2 separate regions of the Homo sapiens genome follow, and region 2 is linked to region 1. The links are contacts of gene promoters, found by promoter capture Hi-C in human tissues and cell types (Jung and others, 2019). All regions are on one chromosome and are shown on one strand. Each heading gives the region's core, a stretch centred on a gene start or on the middle of the fragment in contact. The rest is flanking DNA. Distances are from core to core; before and after follow the strand shown.

Region 1 (6,536 bases), core at 866-3,365:
GCAAGTTTCCTGTAAAAAGACAAATGAGAAAGGCAAGAGCCCTTTTTAGCAGAGCTGCCGATTTTCTGGAGGACTTGGGGAAGCATAGACTTGTTAATTCAGTAAGATTGTAAGTGTTTACACTCTCCCTAGTTCAGAGCAAATTCTAATACAGATTAGCTTTGGAGCATCACCATCAGTGAATGACTATACACCCCTATCAGCTGGGCAGGAACTCAGCATTTTGATTCCATAGCTCTGAAGTAGATGAAAAAGGCCAGCTTAATCAGCCACCTCTGCTAAGCTTACACCTCATACATCCAATGACCCTAGTGACACAGCCCTGTATTTACAAGACCATATGCTGCTTATTCACTGTGCTTCCACTTAGCCCTATTCCCTCACTGCTCCATGGGGGAAGCATGTTCTGGACCCCAAAGCATACAGGCAACAGACCTTACGGCAATCCCTGCAAAATACAATGGGCCAACCCACTCCTCCACACACACACCTGCCTGCTCCAGCTGCAGGATCTGCTACTCCCGTTCCCTGGGTCTGTGTTCCTCCCTCTCTGCATGCTTTGCTATCACACAATGCACAAGAAATTGACCATCTGGATAGTTTTACAAACCCAATCTAGAAGTGAACTGATAATAAAAGACAAACTATAAACCCACAGAGTAAGAGTTCTGTGGAGACAAATAGGTGAGAAGCTATTTCCAAGGTTACCTCTGTAATTTTATAAACATGTCACTCCTCACCCCCGACTGCAGCAAGGGGCATTTCTGGGAGAGAACTTTGGTTTGAGCAGAAAACCATCGGCTTTTCTCTGCCTCTGCCATGTTTCTAAGGAATAAAAATTCACTTTCCACTATCATTAGAGATTTTAACCAAAGGCTCCTTTTATTTTGCTTCCAAATCCAGGGTGATAATTGATTTAACCCAACGGCTTGAGGCTTCTTATAATTCAAAATCCACAGCTCCAAAGCTGGTAACAGAAACACAGGCAAGGGTCACCTAAGGTCAACCTGGCAACTCAAAATATGGGAGAGGGAATTGACATGTTTTCTGCTACACCTAAGAGTTTGTTTAAAACAAAACAAAAAAAGCAAAACAGAAAACGTTTTTCTCCTGTTATCGGAGTTTCTCTACAGTGAAAACAGCAAAAAACAACAGGGCAAAAGAATCACTACTAAACTAGAACAAACCCCCACTAAAGGATCCCTCAATGAATGAAGTGATGGTAACAGGCTTCATCAATTACCGATAACTCTTCTTCCAGTTTTCTCAGGCATTAGGGGCTCTGATTAACCTTTGGTACCATTAACTCATCACACTAGCCTACCTTGGATAAAATCAGCAGGGTTCTTTGAGACTTTCAGTTTATAACAAAAGAAGAGAGAAATCCCCACTTAATTCCCTACGGCCGCCTCTACCTCTCTTTAAAGAAAAGCTACTCCCGCTTGTTCGCTTGTTCTACCGGAGGTATGCTAGCAGCACAGTCGATTTCCTTTGCAGCTCCCTAATCCGGGGTTTCCATTCTCAGTGGAGAATGGATAATCCCAGGGGACCAGCTAAAGACTCTTTTCTTCCGTCCTCTCCCTCTTTTTCCTCTGATCTGCTTAAAAGCCCAGTTAACGACATTGCACCTTAAAGCGAGGGGACACGCACTTTCCCTCGTCCATCTGTCATCAATTAAAAGCATTAATATTTGCTTTAAACTGACACAGGCAAGGCTGATCTCGGGGAGGCGACCTCTGGATGCGCCCTGTGCGAGCAAAGCCGGGAGAGCGAGCCCCAAGCACCTGGCAGCGGTGCCCCCAGCAGGCGCCGAGGAATCCGGCTATCCATTTCTGGTGAACTCTGCGCCCACTGAGGCATTCGAGGTACGGATGTGTCCGCCTAGTACTCGGAGACGAAGGAGAGAGAGCGGGGATATGCGCTCCAGCTCTGCTAGGCTCCAGGGCTCTCACCCTTGCATTCAAAGCCTCCACCCCATCCCACTCCCCGCCACTCACCTTCTGCTTCGGCCACCCGGTGCGGCTCCAGCACCGCGCGCTCTCCCGGCACGGTTCCCGGAGAAAGTCCCCCAATCACCAGCTACGGCACTTGTAGCCTCTGCACGCCGCTCGGCTCCGCCGGGTGGGCAGCGCCCGCCACGGCGGGCGGGGTGGGGCGGGGCGGGGCGCTCCCGGAGCATCCCGGGAGTTGTAGGCCAGGGGCGGTCCCTGCATCCCTCCTGTCTCTGTCTCCTCCCACGCCTTCTGGGTTTTACCCTTCCTGCAGATGAGTTCCCGCCATACCCTCTTACTCCTCCCCAGCACTTAAGAAGACAGCACTGTTTTCTAAGCCTAGAGTGGAGTTCCCTAGCCTCAGGTGTGGCCACAAGACTGTGAAAAGGAAAGTATATTCGACTTCAAATGTGCCAGATAATTTGCATATTTTGTCTTTTTAATAGTCAAAACAAATCTTCCAAGTAGATTTTATTAATCCTCATTTTACAGATGTGGAAACAGGCTCAGAGAGGGTAAGTGCCTCATCCACAGTTACCAACAGCAGCTTCTGAAATTGCATCCAGGAGTCAGATTCGAAAGTCATTGCGTGTCTCACAAAATCAGAAGAAATATGACCATAAGGGGTAAGAGATTGTCCGATGTACCAACACATCCCCTGTATTTAGCACAGTGGTATTCGTTGAATGTATGAATAATAATGACTCAAAATAACAGTTAACATAAATAGCGCTTATTATTGCCAGGCTCTCTTCTAAGCACTATAGATACATTATCTCATTTAATGGTCACAATTTATTGTTAAAGTACTGTAAAAAAAAATCCTCATTTTAACAGAAGGCAAAACTGAGTTACAAAGTAGAATAATTTGCCCAATGTCACACAACTAATACTTAGCAGAGGTGGGGGGGGGGGGATGAACACCAACAGATTCTAAGCGTTATGCTATATGGAATGAATGGAAGAAAGACCAGAAGGCCAGAATAAAAGGGCTCAGGAATAAAGGAAATCTGAAGGTTGAATCTTCTGAGTTGTGACTCTTAGGATAGGACAAGGTAACTGTGTCACCAGCCTCTTTCAACCAGAGTGGACTGCAATAGCCAACAGCCACTGAAAGCCCAGGGTATGTGTAGCTTGCAGATAATCTCCAGTTTTCCAGCATCCTGTTGGGACAATTCTAGGGGAGCAAAAAAGGATTATAGTATGGATGGGCTGGGCACGATGGCTCACGCCAGTAATGCCAGCAATTTGGGAGGCCGAGGCGGGCAGATCACGAGGTCAGAAAATCGAGACCATCCTGGCCAACATGGTGAAACCCCGTCTCTACTAAAATAGAAAAAATTAGCCGGGCGTGGTGGCGCGTGCCTGTACTCCCAGCTACTCAGGAGGCTGAGGCAGGGGAATCGCTTGAAGCCGGAGGCGGAGGTTGCAGTGAGCAGAGATCGTGCCACTGCACCACTCCAGCCTGGCGACAAAGCAAGACTCCGTCTCAAAAAAAAAAAAAAGAAAAAAAGAAAAAAGGGATTAGGGATTATAGTATGTATTATGACATTGTGCTTGTAGCTCACATAAATACTGTGGTTGCTTGCTTTCAAAAGAGAGATCTATCTCCTTTAATGACAATTATGTTGGTATTTCATTACATTGGATAGAATCTATAGTCACATGATTACAGGAGTTCACAATGCTCCCTCTTTAAAATTCTTTTTCCCCCATATGATTATATTTGTAGCCAGTGAGGCCCATTTGTTGATAAACATGACAGATGTATTATGACTTCTCCTTTGCTTACTACACGGTTCTCCAGCATGAATATCTTTCCTCCACTGCCCTATTCCATCCACACTTCAAGGACTAGTTTGTCAAGCCAAATCTACAGGGATGCATCCAGTTCTTAGTACTACATATGCAAAAAGAAATAAAGAGAGAAACTAAGATGTAGAAGGAACTTGAATTTATGTTGACGAGGAAAAACTTAGGAACTTAGGCTATTTAGCCATAGGAGAATACTGAGAGGAAACAATAAACTAGCTTCAAATATTCTGAAGTTTCTAAAAATAGAAGAAGAATTCTATAGTATATTTAAAAGGGTAAAAGCAGAACAAATAACAATAATACTTTTTTGTTAGTGCTATTATGTTATCATCTTTAATTTTTACACCAACTTCACAAGGGAGGCAGTATTATTGCACCCATTTTGCAATGTAGAAATTGAGGCTTGAAAAGATGTAGTTTCTTTTCCAAGGCCTGAAAACTAATATCGGGCAGAGCTAAGGTTCTAACTTGGGTCTGTGTGATTCCAGAGACTTGATCTCTTTGCCAACACATTATACTGAGCAATGCTTCACAATCTTTTTTACAGCAGAGTACACATAAGAGGTGATACTATTTATGGCAATGTGATAAACACAGGAGGTTTCTCATGGCCATAGTTCTGGGGCTGTGGGTACTTCAGTCTCTGCAGGACAGCTTGGAGGGCTAAGGAAATAAATAAGTCAGCACACCTGTGACACACTGGAGTGCTGGAGGATGCCAAAGCACTGATCTGAGAAGCTCTGGATAGCACTATTAAATTTAAGAAGGAGGCTGATTTGAGACTTTGTATAAGGAAGGACATTATTTCTAAAACTTTTAAATTGATGTCTCATGAAAGCAAATTCTCTGGTACTGGTGAGGATTAAAAAAAAAAAGGAGAGCCATTTATTAGTGATTTCATAGAAGGGATTCATCTAGTTGGATTAGAGGACCTCTGTGATTCCCAGGCTGAACTGATTTTAAGTTACTTTTTTTTTTTCCCTGAAGCCTTTTTCTTCCAAGGATTACACCTCCTGTGAACTTTGCTGGGACTTGTCAGTACTGGTGTTTTTGATATTTATCATCCACTGCTTTACGACATTTCTGGAATGGCTAGGTAGCCACTGCATGTGGTTTAACTTCTCACTTAGGTGCCTAAATCTCTAAGGTAATCAATCATAAACTCCTTAAGGTCAGCATCTACATGCTGAACACCTTACCTCCTGCAGAAAGTGCAGTATTTCTGTTGAGAGGGAAGATGTCAAGACTGAACTGAAGACTCGAGATGATTACCTATAATAATACTTGACTGTCTACATATTCTTGAGCATTAAAAATATATCAATTCCAACCAACACCACAAAATCCCCTTTAAAAGTCTGCTGACAAAAAATAGAGATGAACCAATTGAGCACTTGAAAATAAAAGCTCTGCAAAAATTGCCACTTGCTGGAATACTTTCCCCCTCTCTCATAAGTCTATGTCTAAAACTTTCCTGAAAATTGACCCAAGAACCTTTTTCAAAAGCCTTTCTTGTTCAACGTCCTCAACTTATCGTTACCTTTCTAACTGGCTTTCTAGTAGCATAATATGCTTTCTTTTATGCTGTTATTTTAGATATAGAAAAGTATTTCATGTATATTTTATAGTGCTTTCTATGTGATCTCTCCAGATAAAATTTAAGCTCCTTGAGAACCAACATATTCTTTCTATTTCTTTGAAGCTATATGTGGGCATGAAATAGTGCGACACATAGGCAACAGTAGTTCCTCAATATATGCTGATAAAACAATTCACAGTTGTAAAATGTTATCTAGAAATCTACATAATGATTTTGGTCTTACTCTAATTTTAATGTCTCACATTTTCCTGTTTACTTATACTCCGTTTCATGTGAGAGGAGCAATCGTTACTACACTAAGTTAACTAGTTGAAAAATAAGAAAAATTCTGAGAAGTAAATTTACCATGTAAATCAAGGGTAGTGCTGGGACTTTTAACAACCAGCCTCTTGTAATAATTACTGAGGATGTGTTCCAGTTTCTTTTTCTTCAGTAATAATAATAAGGGCTGATTAGTGGACTATTAAGGGATTATTAGTGGAGTTATTATTATGAGAGGCTGGGTCCTAGAGAAGTAAGAAAGACATTTTTGGAATAGGCTGGAGGGAGGATCAGTCATTGAATAGGGATAGCATGAGGAATATGGTCCTATACCCCATACTGGTGCTAAGAATGAAGGTGACCATAATTTAGAGAATGAAGATCTTGTTAATGAACAAGATTCTAGGAACAAAAAAAAGCATTAAATTAGAAAGGTTTCCATTTAATAAGAATGCTTACAGTGGCCAAGTAGGCATGTTACTTAAATAAAGTGGCTGAATACAGACAATAGGGATGGGGAAGATTACCGAAGTTAAGAGCAAGTGCCTTTCCCAAAAGGGGCAGTATCCCCTAACTGTTCTACCTGAGTTTTGTCTTAAGTGAATTTAGACATTAATGAAAGTCAGATATCACAATTTGTTATTCAAAATTCAATGTATTTTAAACCCTTAATGAGTCAGAGAAAAAAAAAATTATTGGGAACATTTGTTTCCCGTAGTAATAGACTAGGTAATTTAGACCTACTCACTGCATTTGGCTTTGAAGAAATGTATTTATATTTGAAACATTTAGAGAACCCAAAATTATTGCATCCAAGGAGCAAAGATTTTTTTTTTCTATCTTTTGGGGAGGGGTGGAAAAGATAGTTT
Region 2 (6,869 bases), core at 3,925-6,424, 61 kb after region 1:
AAAGGGGTCATTTCACTACCCAGGAAGTCTCGATAAAACCACTGAGGCAATTCTAAGTCTCTGCCTCTGAGACATTGTTCTGGACTCCTTGATTATATTGCTACTACTTTCCATTAAATAAATTCCTCCAAGAAAAGGAGATCTGCTGAGTAAATAAAATGGTTTGGCACTGGTCTCTTTCCACTGAGGAAGGCGTATGGCAAATTTGTAACATACAGTGGTGTCAGGTGACACCTTGGTGAAAAGGAAAAAACCAGGCAATGCTGCCGAGGGTTTCCCACCAAGTTCAAACTTGTATAGGATATCTCTTGTGCCTTGCATCTAATCCTCTTGGCTCAATCTTTATTTCTGGGCACTGCTGCAGCAACGAATTCTCACAGATGTAACCTGACAGCACTATATATCTCTCGTTTTCGGCCTGGGGATTCTTGGATGCAGTAGCGTGGGGTGGATTTGAGTGCTTATTAACACTGCATGTAGCCCATTTTGCCCATTTTGACTCATGGTGGAAGAAATCTGGTCCCTTATCTCCCTGAAGTAGACATTTTGAGGCACATTTCTCTAAGACACCTCAGAAGGCCTTGGCCGTATTGAGTTCCAGTTGTCCACTACGGAGATCAGCATAGCATATTAACAGTGAATTGGCTTTCTCTCCTTCTCTGTTTCACTCTCTCTAATCCTTCCTTCCTGTTCTCTTGTCCTGCTAGCTCAATAGACTACCTGCACAAAAGCACTTGTCTCAGATTCTGCTTTCTGGCAGGGGGTGGATGGTGAAGGTAGGGAGGTTGTAGTGAGTCTCAGGCAAACACAAAGCCTAAGTAGAATGGAAAATTGGAAAGAAGAAAGTGTGAATAAAAAAGGTTGTCAACAGACAAAATTACAATAAGTTTAGTTTAAACATCTAATTGCCTTTTGTGTGTGAGTCTAGAATTGGACAACACCTCATTCCATAAGATAGAATGAGTGTTCCCCTGTGTATGACAAAACAGATGGTTTTTGTAAGGTAGAAACAAGAAAAAAGAACAACAAAAAGAATAGATTGGTTAATATCAGGCTACTACAGGGCTCTTTCCTTGTAAAGGTTAGAGCAGAAGGGACTTCCTCATTATCTCAGGTAGACTGGGTTCTTACTGATTGTTGAAATCTGTTTTAAGGAAAAACTGGCTTGTTTGGGGATTTGACTGCTTCCTTAAAGTTTCAGTTTGATTATGTGACATTTAGCATGAGTGGCTCCATTTTGGTTTGGTCTGGTCTGCTGGGGCCTAGGACAAGAGGCTGGTCTAAAATAATGCCTTCCCATAAATTTTGTTTAATGGTGTATACATACATACATATTTCTGTTATCTTAAAATTCATTCAAAAACGTATTGCAGACATTTAATGATAATGGAATTAGTGTAATAAACCAAAAAGCATTAAACACAATAAAAAAGCAAAACCACTTTGTAAATGAAAAGATATTTGTATCAAATCCCCACGTCCTGCTGCCTTAGTAGAGCAATTGCATGAAACCTTTATCTCTGAGTTTCTTAGCAGTTGGAGTGACAATGAAAACATACACATCTCAGTATTCAGTTGTTGAGAGCAAACTGACTAATCAGAAGTAAATGCTTTCTGGATTTTTGAGCAGTGGCAGCTCATTACATTTCAGGTATTAAGGATGGAATGAATAACGTGAGATTTCCATTTCATTAAGGAGGTCCTGCCCCAATATTATCAGATGAAAAACGGTAAGAAGTTTCATCTCCTGGTCATTTTTGTTATAATTATAGATGGAGTTTTGTATCAAAAATTGGAAACTGTATCACCATGTTTTTTTTTTTTATAGATGGCACATTGGATAATGTAATGAACAACGTACTTAATAGTAGAGTTACACAAATTACGGAGGCATTCTCTGGGGGCTACTTCATCTGTTAACTCTTCATCAGTGCCAAAGATATGGCATCTAAAATGCTAGAACTTTTCTAAAAAAAATGGCTCTGGGCTGTTTAAAATGCATAAAAATGTGCTCAAATGCCAACTGATTGAACCATGAAAAAATGACCATTATTTGGAAAACAAGTCAGAGATCAACACTTAAGCAAACTACAGTAGAATTAGAATATAATCCTAATAATGGTAAATTTTGAGCAAAACTGCAATCCTGATGAACTTTGAGTCAGATAAAATAGTTCCATATTGCACTCCCAGATAATGAAATAAATTAACATGTTAAACAATATTTCTTAATTATGCAAGTATGACAACTTTATTGCAAATGTCTCCATTCTCTTCTGTACTTATGGCACACATTCTTATTGGCATTCCTCCCTGTTGATCTTGGAAGCAGCCTCTGAACTTCTTAACACAGTACTCCAGATATTGAAAAGAATAAGATGCTGCAGGTGAGTTGAATATTATTGGTTATTATTTGTATGTCTTAACCGTCTAGATGAGAAAACATGGCTGCCGAAAATAATTTCTTCTCATTTATATGAAACAGACCACAGATCTCACAGTGTCTTCAGGCTGCTCCTGGGATACAGGATAAAATTTGTTCACTGTATTCAATACAGAGAACAAATGAGTGTGAAAATAGAATGAGATTTCCAACCTAAATCTAAGAATCACAAAGTTGTAGGGTTTTTCATCTGGCTTAAAAAAGTGTTGATATATGGAAATATGAGACAAATCTGAGGTGGAGGAAGCTTCTTTACCTAAATGAATCACTTTGCCAGGAAGATAAGGCCCACAATAGATATAAATGTCCATCAAGTATTATAATAGCTATCATTTCTTTAATAAAAAGAAGGCAGCAGCATGACATAACATGCCTCCCATTCAGAAGAACACTTCCAAAGATTCCCCACCCCACCAGCTCTCAACTCTCTCCACCATCTCAGCTACAGGTTAGTGTGGGACAGGCACTTAGAATTCTTGAAAATACGATTGGCAAAGAGAAAACTCCATCTGCAAATGTAACAAAAATAACCAGAAGATGAAACTCTTCCTAGATTATCTCACATTTTTCATCTGATAATATTAGGGTAGGACCTTCTCCATGAAACACAAATCACATATGTTATTCATTTCCCATTCTTAATTCCTGAAATGTCATGAGCTGCTACTGCTCAAAGAATCAGCTCTGATTGTTGTCAAGGGTGAGATGTACAAAGGAAAATATATATTCTATTATAGACTTTAAATGGAATCCTCTTCATCTTTAATGTGAGTAGATTAATAAAATGTTTGCAAAGTGACTAATAGTAATAGTAGAGAATATTAGTTTAAAATAAATGTATGAAGCTTCTTTGGAATAAGTAATGCTAAAACCAAATATTGATTTATTAAAGTTCTAATGTTATACATATCCTTTATGGTTTATAGATATTAAGTAATCATACATAGCTAGAAAAAATTAACAAGAGTAAAATCAACTGCATTTTAGGTCAATAGAGGTTACATAAAGAGAAATATTAAGTTGGTGCAAAAGTAATTGCAGTTTTTGACATTACTTTCAGTGGCAAAAACTGCAATTGCTTTTGCACCAACCTAATAACATAATCAAGTAGTTTAAGAGTTACTAAGTTAGATCACTGTAGACAGGTCTTTTTTCATGAATAGTATGTGAAAATATTATTATTGTTTCAATAGCCCTCATCTGTTAGTCTAGTAATAATATATTTTATGCCTAAATTTCTTTCTGGTCATGGGTAATTTTCAGGGAGATTAATTCTAGGTTACTGTTTTGTCAATTTTTTAAAAAGGAAGTAAATGTCACAAGCATAAAGAGAATCTCAGTTACTTCATCCGTGAAAATGAAAGGCATCCATTTATTTAGAGAAGTGTAATTCAGTGTGAATTATTTAGCACTTATAGTCATAAGCTGTTAGCAGTAGAAGGAACCTTAGGGATTTCCTAGTTCAAAGATTTTCAAGGACAATCTTTGGATTCCTTGAGCTCCTCAGTTGGGCCAGGGGCTTGCCCGCTCATCTCCTTACTTGGTTAGACCAGATATATAAATATATATATATATATATATTTATATATATATAAATTTTACTTAAGTTCTGGGATGCATGTGCAGAATGTGCAGGTTTGTTACCTGGGTATACATGTGCCATGGTGGTTTGCTGCACCTATCAACCCATCATCTAGGTTTTAAGCCCCACATGCATTAGGTATTTGTCCTAGTGCTCTCCCTCCCCTTGCCCCCCACCCCCTGACAGGCCCCAGTGTGTGATGTTCCCCTCCATGTGTTCATGTGTTCTCATTGCTCAGCTCCCACTTATGAGTGAGAACATGCTAGACCAGTTATATTTTTAACTGTTTTATGTAACGGTATTACTTGTAAGGTTGAATTTGAAAAAATAATTCTGCTACTAAAAAATAGGCAAATAGCCCATATATCCCCCCTCATTTTACCAATAATTATAGGATTCTCAAGAAATAAAAAGACTTCACCATGAAGATGCTGTTTTGGTAGTAGAGCCAAGTGCCGATGATCCTTCCACTGAAGTGTGGCACTTTTATCTGCACAGGATTTAGGAAAACAGCTTCTGCTCAAAAGTATGTGTATAGATTTTTAAGTTTTAAAGCTCAGTTAAAGAAAAAGAAATGAGTGAAAATTCTAAGTTTCGGTCAAGTTTTTATGTATGAATATTAGTTGTTTCAGAAGTCAGAAATACTAGGCTATTTTGATAAATCTGATTAGTCCAGCAAGTTTGAAAAAAAAAATGCATGAGGAAATAAAGGAAAAAAGGAACAGGGAAGGAGGAAGGAAGAAAAAAAAGTAAGCAAGCAAGCAAGAGAAAGAAAAATTAAGAAGAAAGAAAAGATTTGAAAAGATAACTTATTTTTTTCAAATATAGCTACATTTGAGGCTGATAGCTCCAAATCTTTTTTTTTATCTTAGGTAATTAAAGTATTAAATTTCCTTTTACCTAATACCATACAGAAAATGAACATTTGATGAAAACTACTTTTATTTGGGTTGTGATTATTCTACTTTTAAATTTTATGTGTCCTGTTCTATGTGTGTGATGGCATTTTATAAACTAAATGGCAAACTGTTCTAAAACAAAAAATATGAAAAGTTAATATAACTAATATAACTTTAAAAAAGCTCCACATTGGACATTCTCAACAGAGAGAATATGTCTAAAGCAAAATTAAAAACATAACTTAAAATTATCTAAGAATTTCAAGGACTGTTGTTACATATATGAATTAAGACTTCCAGTTTTTATGAAAAGGTGAGAGATGCTAAAAAACTGCTCTGCAAATCAAATAGCCTAATTTGTTCATATTATAATTCCTTTTATATTGCATTGATGTTATAGTGTTTCTTTACTTATTTGTCTCTCCTCAAAGACTGCAATTTCCTTAAGGTAAGTATATCTTACCCCTTAGTAATTTGTTTTCTGTACCTCACAACTCTCACAGGCATGCTGTAGATGTGTTATTAATATTTATTTAGTGAATGAATGCATGAATGAATAAACATGAGTGACTCTGCACAATGAGGTTCTGGGTTACTTGTACTTTCTGGTATCTCTTTAAAAGTCTGTTTTGTTTAGACTATTCTCACTTCAAAGTAACTTGGTAACAAAAATAGAATTACATGTCCAGATTTCCTCACTATTCTCTACACTACTTTAGTGACTTAAAGACATTAGTGGAAACCAAATTCACATTTTTCTAAATCATTTATAATAGCACAGAGGAGTAGAATTCTAGCCCAATCAAGTACAGATGGGTAATGTACTTAAGCACCTTTACTTTCAATTATAAAACAAAATACACAGATATAAGCACACAAGTACATAGACACATACATGAGAGTAAGTCCAGTACTTCCTCTTTTTAAGTTCCCAACAGATTATTTACTTTAAGAGAAAATAATAATGTATATTACGTAATAAGCACATACTACGTGCCACATTCTATGTAAGCATTGACATATATTGCTTGATCTTTACAACATTCTTATGAAATATGATCCACTATTATTCCCATTATATACTTGAGGAAATCAAAGTTTAGAGAGGTTAGTAGTCATATATTGCTTTTACATTGAAAGGCTTTGTTTCAAGCCCAGGTGTATCCAGTCTTGCACATTTTTACATATCACCTAAGCATATATCAGAGTCTGGTCTGGATCAGCAAAGAAGGAAGGTCTTAAAATGTCTGAAAGTGTTTGGAAATGCCTCACTTCAAAACAGAGTTACAAGTCCAAAATTTTTTGTTTTTTGCTTTCTCCTGTTTGACTTCAGTGATTTTCTAACATCAGAGAAAAAAAAAATTCATGTGCATTTAAAAAAATCTCCGGTTGGCATTTCAACCAAAGCCAGGATAAACTGGTGGTCTTCTTCCCACATATGCACCCTTTAGATAGCAGCCCTCTGGCTTTTTTTAGTAGGTAGCTCAGTTTAGTTTCATTTGAAACAGAGTCATCTCTTTTGTTAATTTACAAATTTAAAAGATCAGTGAAGTGTGAGAGTGAAATGGATATAAAAATACAAGAACATATGCAGAGGGTGCTGAGAAGAGGCAGACAATACAGTGTTTCTCAGCATGAGGGCTGCTCTGTCGCATTACTACTTGGGACATCTGTGCCTGCACCAAGCTGTCTCAGAGACAGGCTTCAAGCCAAACCATCACGCAGACTTTGTCCTCCACACATAGTCATGGCAATTTTGGTATTCAGAAGCACCTGCCTGCAAATACAATTTGCTCACTGATGCTGCAAGGGGCATAAGAATTATGCACTGTCTCCATCTAATAACACCTTTGCAGTCTCTCCACAGCAGGGGCTCTGCACGGATCTTTTAATCTTCTCGCCCTCTGTAGGAAGTAAGAACTATGATTTCTCTTCCCCTCACACA

The links. Contacts are between HindIII fragments. The study calls those that stand out against the background at their distance.
Region 2: a contact is called between a fragment that was not itself captured here and the fragment with the promoter of TMEM74 in region 1, in 1 of the 25 tissues and cell types used here (hippocampus).

The regions. Positions count from the first base shown.
Region 1 is chr8:108,785,479-108,792,014 of GRCh38, forward strand. It overlaps TMEM74 (transmembrane protein 74), which reads right to left and starts at 2,116. Exons shown (of 2, transcript NM_153015.3): 1 at 1,998-2,116. RefSeq lists silencers at 1,342-1,636, 2,052-2,231. The HindIII fragment of the contact is 13,104 bases long and covers 1-6,536 here.
Region 2 is chr8:108,843,693-108,850,561 of GRCh38, forward strand. No RefSeq gene overlaps it. Among named protein-coding and RNA genes, the nearest start is that of TMEM74, 60 kb to the left of the region's middle. The HindIII fragment of the contact is 4,370 bases long and covers 2,990-6,869 here.